Linked DNA regions of Homo sapiens: all the other regions are linked to region 5. The links are contacts of gene promoters, found by promoter capture Hi-C in human tissues and cell types (Jung and others, 2019). All regions are on one chromosome and are shown on one strand. Each heading gives the region's core, a stretch centred on a gene start or on the middle of the fragment in contact. The rest is flanking DNA. Distances are from core to core; before and after follow the strand shown.

Region 1 (2,700 bases), core at 176-2,675, 370 kb before region 5:
CCAACCAGGATGTGTGGTCATTTCACTTTAATAGATTTTTTTTTTAAAGTAAATGTTACAATATATACATATATTATGTTGTACACCATCGTATATGTAATTTTTGTCAAAAATACACAAAGTAAATGAGTGATGTCATTAAGAATTCTGATCTGAAGATGGAAGGATCTTTTCAGCCTAGAAGCTTGACCATCCTGGGCAATGTAGTGAGATTCTGTCTTAAAAAAGAGAGAGAATTTTGAGTTAGGAATTTGACTGTTTGCCATTGTGGCTTCTTCAAGTGTTCCTGCATTATTAGATTAAGACTGCATTTTTAGGCCGGACGTGGAGGCTAACCCCTGTAATCCCAGCATTTTGGGAGGCCAGGGCAGGCAGATAATTTGAGGTTAGGAGTTCGAGACCAGCCTGGCCAACATGGTGAAACCCCATCTCTACTAAAAATACAAAAATATTAGTTGGGCATGGTGGTGCACGCCTGTAATCCCAGCTACTAGGGAGGCTGAGGCCGGAGAATTGCTTGAACCCAGGAGGCAGATGTTGCAGTGAGCCGAGATTATCCCATTGTACTGCAGCCTGGGCAACAGAGTGAGACTTGTCTCAAAAAAAAAAAAAAAAAAAAGAAAGAAAAGAAAAAAAGACTGTCATTTTGGCAGAAATTCTATTACGATAGTGTTGTATCATGGTTACTAATCCCTTTCCTTGCTTAAGGTTTTGATGTTTGTTTACATTTCAAAATATCTGACAAAGAGTGTTTAGAGATTAGTAATTCTCAGAGGTCATCTGGGCACCTGGAAATATGGATGGGATTTCTGAGAGAAGAAAATCTGTGTTCCTGGAGAGAGAAAAGTTTAGAATAAACACAATAATGTAAATTTGGCATCTTGAATCTGCATCATTTTTGATACTTCATTTTTCAAAATAGTCTATAGTGCTTCATGTATATGCCTTAGCCTTTTTAATAAGGCCTTCATGATTTGATCTGTGTCTGTGGAATGCTCCAGCTTCCTTATGCTCCACACACATGCCTTGTGCTCCAAGCGTATACATGTTTTTCAGTTTGTTTTATGTCCCTTGCACTTTGAGATTTTCTTTCCTTGTACCAAAACTTTCTAGCTACCTGTATTTAGTACATCTTTCAATCCCTGTATTACTTATTAATCTTTCTAAACCTCTCAAATATTTTCTCTCATAAGAAGGCTTATATTTACCATTTGTACTAAATTGTTTTAAATCCTAATAAATATATTTCCCGGTATTTAAACTTTTAGGTAGATGTAGAAGAATGGTGTATATACAGCATGCAACAAGAAAGGTTGTAAAGCTGAATAATTTCCAGTATTGTTATGTAATGTGTGTTTTCATATTCATAACTTTACAGAGCTCTCAACGAAATGTGGAAGTGTCAGAACATGCTTCGGAGCCATGTACGCGAACTATTGGATTTGCACAAGCAGCCTACAGTAGGTTCATGATTTGTTTAAATTCATAGTTTATTATAGTCACTGTTCAGATTTTCTGTAGTTCTACGTAATGAAGCAGGGAAAAAGTATCTCAGTTGTTTTATTTTCCAAATGTCAGTTAAATATAATTTCTGTAGTTGTCCAAGCTAAATTTCCATTTAAAATAAATATAACAAACTCTTATTTTCTAGTGTGAGCAAAGAAATGGTGTTTTCTAGTTTATATAAAGTTTTCAGACACTAAGAGTTTATAGTTAATCAATTTTCAAATAATTAGAATTAAATTTTGAGATAAAATTACATTAAACATCATATTTCTTTTTCACTGCATGATTCATGGTCTCTCAGTGTAGAGTGAATATCAGATATCAATCCTATAAATATGCCAATGGCAAACTAAAAAAGAAATGCCATTAAATTTTTGCAAGGTTGGGGAAAAAAACTTTACATTTTTACGTGTGTTCACTAGAATAGGTGTTCTTAACCAGGGGACCATATAAACAGACCCCTCAAGGACACATGGATGCTGGAACAGGGGCGGGCAAACTTTTTTTTTTTTTTTTTTTTTTTTTTTTAATACACAGGATCTTACTCTGTTGCCCAGGCTGTCGCATAGTGGCATGATCACAGCTCACTGCAGCCTCGATGTCACTGGGCTGAGGTGATCCTCCCACCTCAGCCTTCTGAATAGCTGGGACTACGGGTGTGCTCCACCATACCCAGCTAGGTTTTGTATGTTTTTTGTAGAGGTGAGTTTTCACCATGTTTCCCAGGCTGGTCTCAAAATCTTGGGCTCATGCAGTCTGCCTGCCTAGGCCTCCCAAATTGCTAGGATTACAGGTGTGAGATACTGCACCTAGCCTAGCAAACTTTGAAAATAAATCAACAGATAGCAAAAACATATTTTGCAAGGCATAGAGTCTGTGGTCAGATATTCAACCCTGCCTTTGCAAAATTAGTCATACACGATAAATAAATGAATGGACATGACTATATTCCATCGAAACTACTAACAAAAACAGGTAGCTCATGGGGGCATAGTTTTCTAACTTTTGAACTAAATTATTCAAATTTAGTATAAATGAAAACTAATAAGTAATGTTTTATGGGATACAGGAAAGGGAAGTACGTTTTAGAAAGGAGGTTTTCCTGAAGGTATTTAAGTAACGGGCCACAAAGTAGCTAACAGAACTCTATTGCAGAAAAAAAAGTTTCTTCTCTATATTTTTAGTTAATTTTTT
Region 2 (2,700 bases), core at 11-2,510, 350 kb before region 5:
TTCCTTTGTCATTCACCAGTGTTATAAGAAATCTCAGTCTGGTAAATGGAATGGTGAAAGACTAAACAGATAGGAGAGAGGAAAGACATCTTCCATTTAGAAGCATAGTCAATACTCAGTCAAGGAAGTCTGTTTGGTCATGGACATCCCTATCTCATAATTCCAAAGTCCATAGAGGCAAACTTCAGGCATATTTATACATGTCAAATCAGATTCATACCAACTAGCATATGTTCCCATTTTTGGTTAAAGTGCATGGCCTGGAGCCTGCAGTATAGGTTTCATATGTAGCCTTCCATTATCATAAGAGGGCATTGTCACCCTTGCATTTGATGCCACTAACTTTATAAAATAGGCTCTTCTCTAATAACATTAAATATATGACAAATATCTTTCCTTAAATGTTTGTTTCGTTTTATCAATTTTATTCTGATTATAAAAATACTTACGTTCATTGTAGCAAACTGAAACTAGAAAAAATATAACGAAATAGTCACCATTAACATTTGATATATATACTTTCTATGAATGTTCATCTACTAGATGTGTTTGTCTATTTTTTATAAGTTCATATATGCACACTATTTTCTTCATTCTACCTAATGCTTTTTCATGTCATCAACATTTAATTTTTGAAGAATGCTTTATGTTTTTCTGTCATCCTAAAAGAAGACTGTTTTAGTTTACTCTTCATTGTCAGTGTAGAGGTTAAGTATGTGGATTTTGAAAGAAATGCTAATTTTCAAATCCCAACTCCCAGTTTCCTAGCTTCGTCATCTTAGGAGGCTTAAATAACATCTTTGTGCTTTAATTTTCTCATCTGTGTAATGACTATGATAGTCTTCTTTGGGTGGATGTGAACATTAGTTGAATTAATCCATGCGGAAATACCTAGAATGGTGCCTGGCACATAATAGTTAGATATTTTTATTGCCATTCTACTGATATATATGTAGCTGTATCTTTGCATACTTTCTTTCACTAGTATTATTTCAGCTGTTTAATACAACTTGGCCTTTTGCTACTCTCTTTCTGTAGCTACTTTGAAATAACTGAAGGGGATTATAAAAGGGAATTGAAAAATTAGCAATATTGCTACTTAGAAGGTAAATGCAAAAATATGTCATGGGGTAAGCTTTAGATTATGAATTAAGGGTTGCTTGTTATTTTGCATATTTGTGAGGTAACTTTAAAATAAAAATTGTCTCCTGAAGTAGGCTTTTTCTTGAGGCATTGTATTTCTTGGTTTATACTTGGGGGCAGAGATGGAGCTTTTTTACAACTTTCTTTAGATCAGATAATTTTTAAGAGAGCCTTCTCTACTAGCATCCATCCATATAGGGGAAGTGGAAGTCAACCAAAGGAATACTTGTTGGTTTATGGGTTTAAGAAAAAAAAACAACTATATTATTTTTTGCAGGACCTTAATTCCCATTTTACATCAAAAAGCAAAGAGGGGTACTCCACACCAAGCAAAACAGGCTGTGCACTGTATACACGCCATATTCACAAATAAAGAAGTCCAGCTTGCACAGATTTTTGAGGTATATCTAATATATAGGTTGTGTTTATATTGGTCTTTATTTTTTAAGCTCTATAGTTTGATGAAGATGGAAGCTAGATTTTTTAAAGCTGTTTATATGAAGTCCTACCTTAGACTATAAATTCCTTGTGAGCAAGGATTCTGTCTATTTTATGTGGTACTGCATTCCCAGCCTGTAGATCAGATTATATGTTCAAACACCTCATATTGAAGGGTTTTGTGGTTTTTGTTTTTTAGTTTGTTTTTGAGATAAAGTTTCACTTTCTCACCAGTGCTGGAGTACAGTGATGCAATCTCTGCTCACTGCAGCCCCGAATTCCTAGGTTCAAGCAGTCCTTCTGCCTCAGCCTCCCAAGTAGCTGAGAGTACAGGCACCACCACCATGCCTAGCTAATTTTTGGATTTTTTTATAGAGATGGGGTTTTGCCATGTTGCCCAGGCTGGTCTCAAACTCCTGGACTGAAGCGATCCACCCACTTCAGTCTTTCAAAGTGCTAGGATTACACACATGAGCCACCACACCTAGCCTTATGTGTTTATGTTAGAACATTTTACTTAATTTTAGCCTTATTGGTTCAGTGGTGCATTTATCCTCGGAAAGTATTAGTAGATAATTTTGAACAATCCAGTTTAAAGTACCTAAGAACCCTACCTGAAAATTAATCCTGTTTCCCTTTTTTTTACATATAATGACTGGCCTCATTTTACTATTAGAAATGTATTCCTATTATCATAAATTGGAGATAGTGTGACCAAAACCCAGTGAACTCTTACTTTGTATGATTTAAGGTCATTTAAAATGCTTCCACAGGGTAAGAAAACCACTGGTATAGCAAATCCATTGTTGTAGATTAGTCAAAAATAATGCTGATTTGATGAAGCAAAAATGTTTTTCTTTAAACTTCTTTTTGTTGGATTTTATTTTTTCTTTTATCTTTTTTCTACATTCTTTCAATCTTGCTAAATTTTAGTAGGTGAATTAAGAACCAGGTGTCTTAACATGGTTGAAGTTAGTTATGATCGTATTAGAGAAGATTGGTTTGGGCATGGTAAATTCAGGAGGACTCAGGAAAATGTACTGTTTCAGTAGAGTGTCTAGATATTTATCAAACAAATTGGTAATTTTGTCTGTTTTATTTTTATAGCCACTCAGTAGG
Region 3 (2,700 bases), core at 5-2,504, 420 kb before region 5:
ATAAAATAAAATGTATGGTTGTTTTTAGTATCATCACAAATGCTTGCAGTGATTGCCACAGTCAGGTTTTTTGTGGTGTTTTTCTTTTTTTTTTTTTTCTGAGACAGAGTCTTATTCTGTCGCCCTGGCTGGAGTGCAGTGGTGCAATGCACTGCAGCCCTGGCCCCTGCAAGTTCAGTGATTGTGCCACCCCAGCCTCCTGCGTAGCCGGGTGTGCGCCACCATGCCAAGCTAATTGTTGAAACTTTTTTTTTTAGAGATGGGGTTTCACCTGTTGCCCAGTCCGGTCTTGAACTCCTGGGCTCAAATGATCCATCCACCTGCCTCAGAACCCCAAAGGGCTGGGATTGTGTGAGCCACTTTGACCAGCTCGTAGTCAGTTTTAGAACAGTTATCATCTCAAAATGAAGTCCCTGTGTCCATTAGCTATTACCCTCATATTCCTCCCCACAGTCCTAAGGAATCACTAACCTACTTTTTGTCTATGTACATTTCCCCGATCTGGACATTTCATATAAATGGAATCATAAGCAAGTGGTCTGTTGTGGCTGGCATATTTCAGTTAGCATAACATTTCGCCCAGTCATACCATCAGTTCTTTTTTTTTTTTTTTTTTTTGAGATAGGTTCTTGCTCTTTCATCCACGCTAAAATGTAGTGGCTCCATCTGGGTTCACTGAAGCCTCGACCTCCCGCATTCAAGCAATCCTCCTGCCTCAGCTTCCTGAGTAGCTGGGACTATGGACATGTGCCACCACACCTGGCTATCTTTTTTTTTTTTGGTGTTTTTTGTAGAGACAGGGTTTCACTATGTTGCCCAGTCTCAAAATCCTGTGCTCAGGTGATCTCTGGCCTTGGTCTCCCAAAGTACTGTGATTACAGGTGTGAGCCACCATGCCTGGCTTTCATTATACCTTTTATGGCCAGATAATACTGTAGTGTATAGGTGTACCAAATTTTGTTTATCCGTTTGTTAGTTGATAATAAATGGGGTTGGGCTGGGCTCAGTGGCTCACACCTCTAATTCCAGAACTTTGGGAGGCCAAGGTGGGCAGATAATCTGAGGTCAAGAATTCAAGACCAGCCTGGCCAACATGGTGAAATGCCATCTCAACTAAAAATAGAAAAATTATCCGGGCATGGTGGCACATGCCTTTAATCCCAGCTACTCAGGAGGCTGAGGCAGGAAAATTGCTTGAAGCCAGGAGGCAGAGGTTGCAGTGAGCTGAGATGGCACCACTGCACTCCAGCCTGGGCAGCAGAGTGAGACTCGGTCTTTAAAAAAAAAAAAAAAAAAAATCCAGGCGTGGTAGCTCACACGTGTAATCCCAGCACTTTGGGAGGCCGAGGCAGGTGGATCATGAGGTCAGCAGTTCAAGACCAGCCTGGCCAAGATGGTAAAACCCCATCTCTACTAAAAATACAAAAATTAGCAGGGCCTGGTGGTAGGCGCCTATAAACCCAGCTACTCGGGAGGCTGAGGCAGAGAATTGCTTGAACCCGGGAGGCGGAGGTTGCAGTAATGCAGTGAGCCGAGGTCGCACCATTGCACTCCAGCCTGGGTGACAGAGCAAGACTCCATCTCAAAAAAAAAAAAAAAAAAAAAAAGGTTTGATTCACCTTTTGGCTATTGTGAATAATGCTGCTATAAACATTCTTGTGCAAATTTCTCTTTTCTTTTTCTTTCTTTCTTTTTTTTTTTTTTTTTTTGAGACGGGATATCTTGCTGTGTTGCCTACCTCCTGAGCTTAAGGAATCCTGCTGCCTCAGTCTTTCAAGTAGCTGAGACTACTGGTACGTGCTACCATACCCAGCTAATTTTTAAATCTTTAGTAGAAATGGGGTCTTGCAGTTGTTGCCCAGGCTAGTCTTGCATTCCTTGTCTCAAGGCATCCTCCCTCCTTGTCTTTCCAAATTGCTAAGATCATGGGAGTGAGCCACCATTCCTGGCTTATGTGCAAATTTTTGTGTGGACATTGCCATTATTTGGATAAGGTTTGTCCTCACCAAAACTTATGTTGAAGTTTGGTTCTCATTGCAGCAGTGTTGGGAATTGGGGCCTACTGGGAGGTGTTCCATCATGGGGCCAGTCCCTCATGAATAGATAATGCCATCTTGTGAGAGTGAGTTCTCACTCTTCTGGGACTGGATTAGTTACCCAAAAAGTGGGTTCTTATAAACAAGCTTGGTCCAACTCACAGCCCGTGGGTCACATGTGACCCAGGATGGCTTTGAATGTGGCCCAACACACATTCATAAACTTTCTTAAAACATTATGAGACTATTGTGCAATTTTTTTTGTTTGTTTTAAGGTTATTAGCTATCATTAGTGTTAGTGTACTTTATGTGTGGTCCAAGACAATTCTTCTTCCAGTGTGGCCCAGGGAAGCCAAAGGATTGGACACTACTGTTAGAAAGCAGGTTTACTCCCTCATGTTTATTTCATGTTTCCTCTCTCTTTTTTTTCCCCCCTTTCAGACAGTCTCTCTCTCACCCAGACTGGAGTGCAGTGGCATGATCTTGGCTCACTGCAGCCTCCGCCTCCCGGTTCAAGTTATCTGCCTCAGTCTCCTGAGTAGCTGGGAGTACAGGCACATGCCACCATCCCAGGCTAATTTTTTGTATTTTTAGTAGAGATGGGGTTTCACAATGTTAGCTAGGCTGGTCTTGAGCTCTTGACCTCAAGTGGTCCGCCAGCATC
Region 4 (2,700 bases), core at 27-2,526, 480 kb after region 5:
ACCTGAATCTAATCTCATACACAGCTTTTACTCATATTCTTGTTTTTTTTTTTTTTCTGGGAAATCCTCTTCAGGTAACATATACCATCTCCCCATAGTTAATCTCTTCGGCCACTGATGAGGTGAAGCTATGGATATTTTTCAAACAGGAAGAAAGGAGATTATCGCGTAGTTTGAAAATGCAAGGGAATTCTGCTAGTGAAGCTACATACACGAGTCTAACAGAAAATGATAGAAATTTATTGAGAATAAAATTAGATTAAATTGGTGAAGAGATATGATAATAGCATGTTAAAATGTAAAATGTCCAGATAAAGAGTGTCTAGGAGACCAGTTTGGATGGAAGAAAAGAGCAGAGCTAGGTAGTATATTACATGTGCCGTTCTTCCTGCATTATTACCCATGAGGAGAAGCCAGGAAGCTCTGTATCAGGATCAAAGCAGATGACTTATAAGAGTTAGACAATTCAGTCAATCCTTACCCTGGGAGAGGAAGAAGGGATGGATGAAAGGATTACAATGGAGATGGCATTTGCCAGTGTTCAGGGAGGGAATATCGTAGTTACTTAAGTCAGATCCAGTTATACCTTCTTATCCTGATTATCATAATCAGCCTGTCTCACTAGAATTTGCAAGCTCATGTTAATTGTGTAGAACTTTCCATGGCACCTCGGTTTCTTTGATTGAAAGCTATTATAACTGCCTCTTTCTCTACTATAAAGTTGTCAATTACACTAATTTGTTATACCTTAGAGTCAACTGCATTATTTCCTAAGTCTGGTGGTTAAGAGCTTACAAAGACAATGCACTTAAACATTTTTAGATTGTCTGAAATTGTTAAAGCCTCTAGTTTCAAGTTCATAAACTCTTAGATTAAAACATCCATGTAACAGCAAAATAGAGAAAAATTAATCAATAGAGAAAAAGAAGAAAGAAATACATGTGCAGAGAGAGACACTAGCAAGAAATCATATAGACTTGGAGAGAGAGAAAGTAGCCCTAGCTCCTAGCTTTCTGTTATTGGTGCCAGTTGCTTTGAGGCCCAGCTGTACTTCTTGCCCTTGGACTCTGATACAAACTATATTCCTTTTCTAACATAACATTTCTTTTGCTTATGCTAATTTAAGTAACATTGTTTAATTTGTCATGAAATACTCCTTAAGTCCAAAAAGGCAGAGAGGAACAAAGTGTAACAGTTTATATATTTAGTATTTTTCACTATTTTATATATGTGTGTATACACATCATTTACATACTGTAAATGATGCCTTAAAGAGAAAGGGAGAGAAAACTCAAGTATAGCTATTTTCTATTGTGATTGTAAACTCCCCACTTATTTATTTATTTATTTTTGGGATGGAGTCTCACTCTGTCGCCCAGGATGAAGTGCAGTGGCGTGATGTCAGCTTACCGCAACCTCTGCTTCCCGGGTTCAAGCGATTCTCCTGCCTCAGCCTCTGGAGTAGCTGGGATTACAGGCGTGCACCATGATGCCCAGCTAATATTTTTTGTAATTTTAGTAGAGATGTGGTTTCACCATGTTGGCCAGGCTGGTCTCGAACTCCTGACCTCAGGTGATCTGCCCACCTGAGCCTACCAAAGTGCTGGGATTAAAAGCGTGAGCCACTATGCCCGACCCTCATTTATCTTTTTATCCTCACAGGCCTAACACAGTGCCTTATACACTTTCATTTATTTATTTATTTATTTATTTTTTATTTATTTATTTTTGAGACAAGGTCTTGCTGTCCCGTAGGTTGGAGGGCAGTGGCCTGATCATGGCTCACTGCAGCCTTGACCTGCCAAGCACAAATGATCAATCATCTCACCTCCCTACCCCCGCCCCCAAGGAAGCTCGGACTGGAGACACATGCCACTACACCCAGCTAATTTTATTTATTTTTTGTAGGCATAGGGTCTCACTACGTTGTCCAGATTGGTCTCAAAACTCCTGGACTGAAGAATCCTCCCACCTTGGCCTCCCAAAGTGCTGGGACTGCACAGTCTTGAGCCACTACACCTGGCCCCTTATACACATTCAACAAATGTTTATTGAATGGACATACAATTTAAAAAGAATGAAATTCATTTGGCCAAAATAACAAACTTAATTGTGAAGTTCTCAAAAGCATTTCATTTCAAACTAATAAAAGACATTCTTCATAATTCTCATTAGCATAATTCTGTTTAAACACACTCACATACACAAAGAAATGCTGTTTTCTATTTTCTAAATAGAATACTGTACTGACATATTTGGCTTTTGATTTATTTAGATTCTGTGTTAGCTCATGGGACTCTGAAGCCTCTTTAGTAGTCATTAAGACCGTTCACAGACTATTCCAGTTCTCCTCTTTCTGGGCACATGGTAGAAATGCATTTCCCCATCTCCTTGAAGTTGGGTGTAGTCAAGTGACTTTTGGCCAATGAAATAGCAGTGGAAGTTAAGTGTCACTTCCAGACAGAAGCCCTGAAGAGCCAATGTACACCAGGCGCGGTGGTTCACACCTGTAATCCCAGCACTTTGGGAGGCTGAGGCAGGTGGATCATGAGGTCAGGAGTTGGAGATCAGGCTGGTCAACATGATGAAACCCCGTCTCTACTACAAATACAAAAATTAGCCAGGCATGGTGGTGGGCGCCTGTAATCCCACCTACTCGGGAGGCTGAGGCAGGAGAATCACTTGAAACTGGAAGGCAGA
Region 5 (2,700 bases), core at 120-2,619:
TTGAATCTGGAAGGAGGAGGTTGAGGTGAGCCGAGATCGCACCACTGCACTCCAGCCTCGGCGACAAGAGGGAGACTCCGTCTCAAAACAACCAACCAACAAGCCTACATATCCTGCCACACGTGCTACAATCCACAGCAAACTGTTTCATCCACATTCAACCACTTTCTTAAAGTCACCATCATGATCCTATCAAGAAAACCGTAATTTATATGGTATTTTAATGTGCCTTTATAAATTACTAATCACTTTCTTCATGATGTATGTTAAAATGGCTTATGTCACCTGATGTAATCCTTAATGAGGGAAATAAAAGGCCATGATTATGCCTGGCTTTTTTTCTTATATGTTAGATTTGAGTGTTAAAATGACCTCGAAGCGGCGAAAGAAAGGAACGGAACTGCCCTCCACATTAAAAATGAGCAGGCTCCATAGGTTAATTTTACTCTTCCTCACGCACGGCACTTACATGTTGCAAACTCTCTGCTCCACAGCACGCACAGACATCCCAAATCCCGGATTGGGCCTGAGGAACATCTCTGCAAAGAGCGCCAGGAGGGCGTGGGGGTCCCGCCTCTCTCGCCAGGGACCAGGGAGTGGACACTCACTGGTCCAGTCATGAGGAACTCAGCATCCTCCTGACGGGAGGCGCCTCTTTCCCAGAAGCGGTGGGTCAGGAGGAATCTGACTAAACCCTGGGTTGCCGGCCCGGAGGGCGCGGTTGACCCCGGGGCCTCGAGGTTGTGGGCGAGGAGTAATCCGCCCGCCGAGACCGACCCGCAGATCCAGGAGACCGAAACCCGAGGGCGGCGCTCCAGGGTGCTGAGGAGACCGGAAAGGCGGCCAGGACCTTCCGGTCGCCTCGGCCCACCACCCACCCAGTGTCCGCGCAGCCCTAAAGCCTGGCAGACGCGGAGCGCACGCGGCCTTTGCCTCGGCCAGGACAGGGCAGCGGGGAGAGGGCTGCTAGACAACAATTCTTGACCCCTCCTCGACCCACGACCGCCAGGTAGGCGCGCAAAGCTCCTACACCTGCGGCGCGCCCCCGTCCCCTGGTCCAGCGGACACGCCACGCACGCAGCCCCGCCCAGCGCCGCTCGCGGTAGGGGCGGAGCCGCTGAGCTGGCCAAAGCGGATTTGCCCAGCTAGGCCAGGGGCGGGGCAGGCCCTCCCAGCCAGGACCAGCCCCAGTCTCCCCGCCCCTGAGCCGTGAAGGAAATAGGGACCTGGCCCTGGGCCTTGTGTAGCGGGAGGGGGAGCTAGGAAGCAGCTGAGGGCAGAATCCAGGAGGGCCTGGCTGCGGGGGAATGAAGCCTCCGCCTTCGCAGGCAAAAGCCTTTAAATACGGGCTCAGGCCCGGGACTCAGAGTGTAACGCGTGGCAGCCTGAGGGAGGGGCGTGCGCCGAGAGGGAGCTCAGATCGAGCGGGGCGCGGGTGGAGAAGCTGCGGCGGCGCGGCCCGTAGGAAGGTGCTGTCCGAACGATCGGGATAGGAGCGGTCCCTGCGCTTGCTGCTGGGAAGTGGGTAAGCGCCGCTCCCAGGCTGGCCCCGCCGCCCGGGCGGGATGCTCCCAGGTCTGGGCGGGATGTGGAGGGAGCGGGGCTGGGGTGTGCGCGCTGCTCCCGGTCGCTCGCTGCGCTGGGTCCCGGGCTTCCCGTCTCACGACCTTCGTCTCTTTGGGGCTTAGGGCGGGAACCGCATTTTGGAACTGCTGTCCTGGGGATGTGGTCGTCTGGGCTTCTTATTCAAGACTCGTGAGTCTTCCAGCCCCTTCTCTTTCTGCCTTTACCCACTTTCCTGACTTGGATGAGATTTCCCTGCCGCCTCCAAAGCCGAACGCCCACCACAGGAAGCGGTTCTCTCGTTGGGGACCTCATTTTGGCCGCAGAGTCGTAGTCTTTTGTTTGTGTTTAAGAGTCTGCTCACCTGAGGGGCTCCTGCTTTTCTCATGCCGCCCCTCTTAAGAAACCAAAGAGAAACGAAGCCAGAAAGCCCTCTTGAGAGCAAAATACTAAGACTGCCGTGATATCTGTCCGGGATGTCCTGGAATCCATTGTTGGCCCCCTACACCACAGAATTGCTCTGTTTGATGTCGGGGAAGGCCTTTCCTGGGTGCCTCGGGAGACCATGTTTGTGTGAGATCTTGAAAAATTATACGTCCTATAAATATATAGGAAGATAACTTAGTAGGGTTAGGAATTCTAGTATAGAGAAAAGAGGGGTTCGCTGGTAGGGATCTATTCATGGGCATACAGAGCAGTAGCTGTCTATCGACAGACCTCAAAGACACAGTGAGCCTTTGAGTTTCTTCAAATCCCTTAAGAAATGGAGAACAGTAGTCTTTCTTCAGGGGGGTTCTGGAAATGAAAGAGCTGACTGTCTGCTCTGAGATGTGCTTATTAGTGGCCAGGATCCAGTTTAAGGTAAGGGGTAGACAACCCTGATTGAAAAGATCTCATTTCTTCTCCCGTTGCTGTACTCCTTTTTCTAACAAAATCTATAACTGGATAAGCATAATCCATCTTCCTTCTTGTTTACTTCCACAGCTTTACATGATAACCCTTAGACATAAAATTAATACCGGCTTTCTTACTGATTAAATATTTTTCTCTGGTCAGGCATCTTTTACTGTTTAATTTCTGGAAATGATTAAAATGTGTGAAGCTGATGTATCCAACTATAATGCCCATCGTTAGCTC
Region 6 (2,700 bases), core at 109-2,608, 500 kb before region 5:
TCATGCCACTGTACTGCAGCCTGGGCAACAGAGTGAGACTCCATCTCAAAAAAAAAAAAAAAAAGTCTACAGAGTTTCCAGAGTACTTGCTTTGTTTTCTTTTTCTTTTTTTTTTTTTTTAACAAAAAAAGGGCATCCAGGCATAGAGGCCAAGGTGGGCGGATCACAAGGTCAGGAGTTCAACACAAGCCTGACCAACATGGTAAAACCTCGTCTCTACTAAAAATGTCTAATTTTTATTAGACAGGCATGGTGGTGTGCACCTGTAATCCCAGCTACTCAGGAGGCTGAGGCAGGAGAATCGCTTGAACCCAGGAGGCGGAGGTTGCAGTGAGCCAAGATCGTGCCACTGCACTCCAGCCTGGGCGACAGACAAGACTCCATCTCAGAAAAAAAAATAAGGAAAAAAGTCTACATATTGAACTGTGAAATTCCTCAGTCCAGTGCTACAGAGCCAATAGCCAGGCAGAAGATTAGTTTAGTAGTACTTGCTTTTTTTTTTTTTAACAAAAAAAGGTCTACATATTGAACTGTGAGATTCCTCAGTCCAGTGCTACAAAGCCAATAGCCAAGCAGAAAATTAGTTTTTCTCCAGATAAAGTAAATTGCTACAGAGAAAATACCTACACATACTGTCATTTGGGGTACCACACACATACCTGAACACAAAAGCTGGCTGACTACCTAGGGAATCTAAAAATAAGCTCACAAGTTGACAAGACCTGCCCACTCACACAGAGCTTCCAGTCAGCTATGCAGTGGTTCAGTTAAAAATCTGACCAAATATTCAAGGATCATCAGACCTTTGAGGAAAGCTTTCAACAGTAAAGACAGAGACCGAGCAGGGCATGGTGGTTCACATCTGTAATCCCAGCACTTTGGGAAGCCAAGGCAGGTGGATCACTTGAGGTCAAGAGTTTGAGACCAGCCTGGCCAACATGGTGAAACTCTGTCTCTACTAAAAATACAAAAATTAGCTGAGTGTGGTGGCGCACGCCTGTAATCCCAGCTACTCAGAAGGCTAAGGTGGGAGAGTCGCTTGAACCTGGGAGGCAGAAGTTGCAGTGAGCCGAGATCGTGCCACTGCATTCCAGCCTGGGTGACAGAGCGAGACTCCATCTCAAAATAAAATAAATAAATAGTTTTTAAAAAAATGGTGAATGGTTAAATAGACTGTGGTACATCCATACCATGGAATACCCAGCATTAAAAAAGAACAACCTATTGATACATGCAAAAACTTAGGTGGCTTTCTAGGGCATTATGCAGCCTGAAAAAGCCAGTCTCAAAGGGATACATAAGGCCTGATTCCAGTTATGTAATTTCCTCAAAATGAGCTGGATTGCCTGTTTCTGGATTTACATGATTGATAATTCTACAGGGCATTTAGTTTTAGTTTCCGACAACCATAACACAACTTTCATTCTCTCCTGGAGTCCTCCTTTCTTCTTTCTTTTTTTCTTTTTTGAAACAGAGTCTCACTCTGTCACCCAGGTTAGAGTGCAGTGGCACGATCTCAACTCACTGCAACCTCCATCTCTCAGGTTCAAGCAATTCTCCTGCCTCAGCCTCCCAAGTAGCTGGGATTACAGGCAAGCACCACCATGCCCGGCAATTTTTGTATTTTTAGCAGAGACAGGCTTTCACCATGTTGGACAGGCTGGTCTTGAACTCCTGACCTCCAGTGATCTGCCCGCCTCAGCCTCCCAAAATGCAGGGATTACAGGTATGAGTCACTGTGCCTGGCCAATTTTTTAATTTTTTTGAGACAAAGTCTTGCTCTGTTACCCAGGCTGGAGTGCAGTGGCACGATCACAGTTAACTGCAGCCTCAACCTCCTGGGCTAAAGTGATCCTCCCACCTCAACCTTCCAAGCTGGGACTACAGTTGTGTGTCACTACACCTGGCTAAATTTTTTAATTTTTTGTAGAGGTGAGGGTCTCATTAATGTTGTCTAGGCTGGTCTCAAACTCCTGGGATCAAGGAATCCTCCTACCTTGGCCTCCCAAAGTGCTGGGATTACCAGTGTGAGCCACCATGCCTGGCTGGGTTTTACTCATTTTCTAATTGGTTTTGTTTTTGTTTATTTACTGTTGAGTTGAAAATTCTTCGTATAGTCTAGATATGAGTCCTTTATCAGATATGTGATTGGTAAATCACAACAAAAGTTTTTAATTTTGATGAAGTCCAATTTATCAGTTTTTTTATGGATTGTGCTTTTGGTGTCACATCTAAGAATTCCTCAACAAGGCACAGGTCTTGAAGATTTTCTCCTATGTTTTCTTCTAAAAGCTTATAGTTTTACATTTCACATCTAAATCTATAATCCATTTTGAGGTAATTTTTACATTTTTCCATGTTTGTATAGGTAACTTTAGTCCATTTGACTACTTTTCATATTCCCTTGTATGACAAAGTTACAGTGCATTTATGTTTAGTTTTGTTTTTTGAGATGGAGTCTCGCTCTGTCACACGGGCTGGAATGCAATGGCGCGATCTCGAATCACTGCAACCTCTGCCTCCCAGGTTCAAGTAATTCTTCTGCCTCAGCCTCCAGAGAAGCTGGAATTACAGGCGTGTGCCACCACACCTGGCTAATTTTTTTTGAATTTTTAGTAGAGATGGGATTTCACTATGTTGGCCGGGCTGGTCTCAAATTCCTGACCTCAAGTGATCCACCAACCTTGGCCTCCCAAAGTG
Region 7 (2,700 bases), core at 159-2,658, 390 kb before region 5:
ATTAACATATCATGTAGGAGTTTCATTCATTTAAGTGCTGTTTTCTGGAAACTGAAAATGTTTTGTATTCACACAAATAATCTGAGAATTGTAAGGGGTTAGGGGTGTTGCCTTTTGGTTAACTTTGTTTGGAAAAGAAATGTATTTCCTCCTTTTTAACATAGATGTGAAACATAGGAGTTTGGATTTCTTTTCAGAATCCGTATCGTACCTTTTTCTTAGGTACTCTCAGAAAAAGATTTGGGCAGAAGCTATATGGTTAATGTTAAGAAGAAAAGGATGATTCAAAGGTGTATCATTCTTCCCTGTTTCCTTTTTCTATTTATCTCCACCAGATCCTCCTAAGAATCTGAAGGACTTGGCTGCCCTCAGGCTCCACCACTGGGCTCTACTCAGGCCTACCCCAATGTTGATATTTGCTCTCCTGCTCTTTTCTTCTAGTGGTTCAGTATCCTGTTATCAGACATTAGAGGAAAAATCTGTCCAATTATACTCATTCACAGAAAGATATAATTAATTTTAAATTCTTCTCGAGTTTAAATATTATTTACATTTTATTAATTCAAATGTAGTTTACAAAATTCTGTAGTTTATAAAAATTCTGAGACTATGGCAAAGGAGAGTATATTTTGGCAGATTAAGACAGTATATTTGGTTTTTATATACTAGGTAAGTAGGTTGGTGGTATTTTTTTGGGACAGGGTCTCACTCTGTCACCTAGGCTGGAGTGCAGCGGCACTATCTTGGCTCATTGCCGCCTCTGTCTCCTGGGCTCAAGTGATCCTCCTACCTCAGCCTCCCAAGTAGCTGGCAATACAGGCATGTGCCACCATACCTGGCTTTTTTTTTTTTTTTTTTTTTTAAGTTTTCTTTGTAGAAACAGGGTTTCGCTATGTTGCCCAGGCTTATCTCAAACTCCTGGGCTCAAGCGATCTGCCCGTTTTAGCCTCCCGAAGTGCTGAGATTACAGGCATGAGCAACCACATCTGGCTTGAGAGCATTTTTATTAGTAGTAGGAAATAGACTTCTTTTAAGAAATAGAAATGTTAACTTAATTTTAAGCAAATCTTATCCTTTGCCAATGAAATAAAAGTATAGAGCAGGGGTCAAGAAGCTATGGCTTGTTGATCAGATTTGGACTATTGCTTATTTATGTAAGTAAGATTTTATTGGAACACAGCCATGTTCATTCGTTTTCGTTTTGTTTATATCTGCTTTCATGCTACAACAGCAGAGTTGTGTAGTTGTTGCAGTGATTTGTATGACCCACAAAACCTAAAATATTTACCATGTGGCCCTTCATAGAAAAAGTTTGCTGACCCCTGGCCTAGAGTGTAGGGTTTCCTAGCCTTGTTTTGGAAGAGGTGTTAGATGATGGTGAATGAATCTGTTTGATCCAAAACTTCAAGATATAGCAATGTTAATAGGTATTATTCAAAACAAGAATTCCCTTTTCAGGCATTTAAAAAAAATTAAATAATATATTTTCTAAGGTCCTTCTCAGATCCTTTAATTTATTTGAGTACATTGGGACTCTTGAAACGGGAGCATAGTATTAAGCATTTCAAAAATACAATTGATCAAGAACGCTTTTTATTTGAAACGCTTACCAGGTCTACTCTTCTCCAGAGCACGCATTGATTAAACAATGAAATAATTGAGCATGTTGTGTTAGATCAGGGAGTGTATGTGTTTAAGATACGTGGGTGTAGTTGTCAGTTTACATTGGTTAACAGATAAAACCAAAAAGCATTAGGTCTGTTTTGAGTTTAATAAAACAATATAGTGTTGTGCTTTTGCTAACTAACCCATTTTAGTTTTTGATTAATAAATTAGTTCGATTTGCAACGTCTGCATTTAAGATCACTTGACTAGAGGATATTTGGCAAAACCTTGAAGAGAACTCAGTTATTTTTATTTTTGCTTCATATTTTAGTGAAGCAAAATTCATATTTTATTACAGATTTGAAGACTACAGTATTCTAATGTTACTATCTCATAAATTAACATTTATTTGTAACTTTCCATGTTTTTATTATTTTTCAGAACTTAAATAAACAGTCCTTTGACCTTGCAAAAGTGCTATTGAAAAGAACAGTCCAGACTATTGAGGCATGCATTGCTAATGTATGTATTTCTTTCTATGTTTATTCTATATTTTGTAATTCTTAATCCATTGTATTAATTTATTAGAACCTCTTACATAAAAGTTTATTTAGCTTATAAATATAAAATAACTTATGTCCAGATGTGACCAGGGTTAGAGAAATGCAGCATAAGTTTCATGACGTTTTTAAAGGGTGGATATTACTATAAGAAAAGTCGTCTGCAACTCCCATCCCCTTATCTGCATTTGTATTTATGTTTATTTCATTGTCTCCCAGATATGCTGATCTCTTTCATATTTTCCTTGGGTCTCTGTGTCTCTCTCTATATATTTTTTTCTTTGTTTCTTTTGGGTCATTCTTCTGAAGTCCTGTAATGTTTCTTCCTTTTTTTTTTATTTTATTTTTTTAAGATTACAGAGATTTATTTAGAAAATGGTTTGGTTGTTTTGCCTGTTGTTTTTGGCAAAGATTTAAATACTTTTCAGTAATGAAAGATTGTGATAGTTGCTACATAGTAATAGTTAAAAAAAGGTTTACTGAGGAATTTGTTCTGGGTTTGTTTTTCCTAAAAAAATCAATAATTTGGAAAAAA

Evidence for each region. The method cuts DNA at HindIII sites, captures the fragments that hold promoters and counts their contacts. A contact is called where the count stands out against the background at its distance.
Region 1: a contact is called between a fragment that was not itself captured here and the fragment with the promoter of UGDH in region 5, in 2 of the 25 tissues and cell types used here (mesenchymal stem cells and small bowel).
Region 2: a contact is called between a fragment that was not itself captured here and the fragment with the promoter of UGDH in region 5, in 3 of the 25 tissues and cell types used here (IMR-90 fibroblasts, lymphoblastoid cells and mesenchymal stem cells).
Region 3: a contact is called between a fragment that was not itself captured here and the fragment with the promoter of UGDH in region 5, in 1 of the 25 tissues and cell types used here (aorta).
Region 4: a fragment that was not itself captured here is called in contact with the fragment with the promoter of UGDH in region 5 in 1 of the 25 tissues and cell types used here (hippocampus).
Region 6: a contact is called between a fragment that was not itself captured here and the fragment with the promoter of UGDH in region 5, in 2 of the 25 tissues and cell types used here (lymphoblastoid cells and mesenchymal stem cells).
Region 7: a fragment that was not itself captured here is called in contact with the fragment with the promoter of UGDH in region 5 in 1 of the 25 tissues and cell types used here (thymus).

The regions. Positions count from the first base shown.
Region 1 is chr4:39,899,186-39,901,885 of GRCh38, reverse strand. It overlaps PDS5A (PDS5 cohesin associated factor A), which reads left to right. Exons shown (of 33, transcript NM_001100399.2): 14 at 1,379-1,460. Among named protein-coding and RNA genes, the nearest start is that of PDS5A, 77 kb to the left of the region's middle. The HindIII fragment of the contact is 3,713 bases long and covers 1-2,700 here.
Region 2 is chr4:39,873,133-39,875,832 of GRCh38, reverse strand. PDS5A (PDS5 cohesin associated factor A) reads left to right here. Exons shown (of 33, transcript NM_001100399.2): 20 at 1,421-1,544; 21 at 2,689-2,700. Among named protein-coding and RNA genes, the nearest start is that of PDS5A, 100 kb to the left of the region's middle. The HindIII fragment of the contact is 9,111 bases long and covers 1-2,700 here.
Region 3 is chr4:39,947,220-39,949,919 of GRCh38, reverse strand. The region is part of intron 2 of PDS5A (PDS5 cohesin associated factor A); the gene reads left to right. Among named protein-coding and RNA genes, the nearest start is that of PDS5A, 29 kb to the left of the region's middle. The HindIII fragment of the contact is 7,039 bases long and covers 1-2,700 here.
Region 4 is chr4:39,048,727-39,051,426 of GRCh38, reverse strand. It overlaps a transcript of KLHL5 not described here. Among named protein-coding and RNA genes, the nearest start is that of KLHL5, 12 kb to the left of the region's middle. The HindIII fragment of the contact is 3,232 bases long and covers 1-2,700 here.
Region 5 is chr4:39,526,108-39,528,807 of GRCh38, reverse strand. It overlaps UGDH (UDP-glucose 6-dehydrogenase), which reads left to right and starts at 1,369. Exons shown (of 12, transcript NM_003359.4): 1 at 1,369-1,525. UGDH-AS1 (UGDH antisense RNA 1) reads right to left here and starts at 969. Exons shown (of 5, transcript NR_047679.1): 1 at 470-969. RefSeq lists an enhancer at 485-544 and silencers at 925-1,224, 1,475-1,654. The HindIII fragment of the contact is 14,033 bases long and covers 1-2,700 here.
Region 6 is chr4:40,024,961-40,027,660 of GRCh38, reverse strand. No RefSeq gene overlaps it. Among named protein-coding and RNA genes, the nearest start is that of N4BP2, 31 kb to the left of the region's middle. The HindIII fragment of the contact is 3,515 bases long and covers 1-2,700 here.
Region 7 is chr4:39,919,746-39,922,445 of GRCh38, reverse strand. It overlaps PDS5A (PDS5 cohesin associated factor A), which reads left to right. Exons shown (of 33, transcript NM_001100399.2): 7 at 2,047-2,127. Among named protein-coding and RNA genes, the nearest start is that of PDS5A, 57 kb to the left of the region's middle. The HindIII fragment of the contact is 5,182 bases long and covers 1-2,700 here.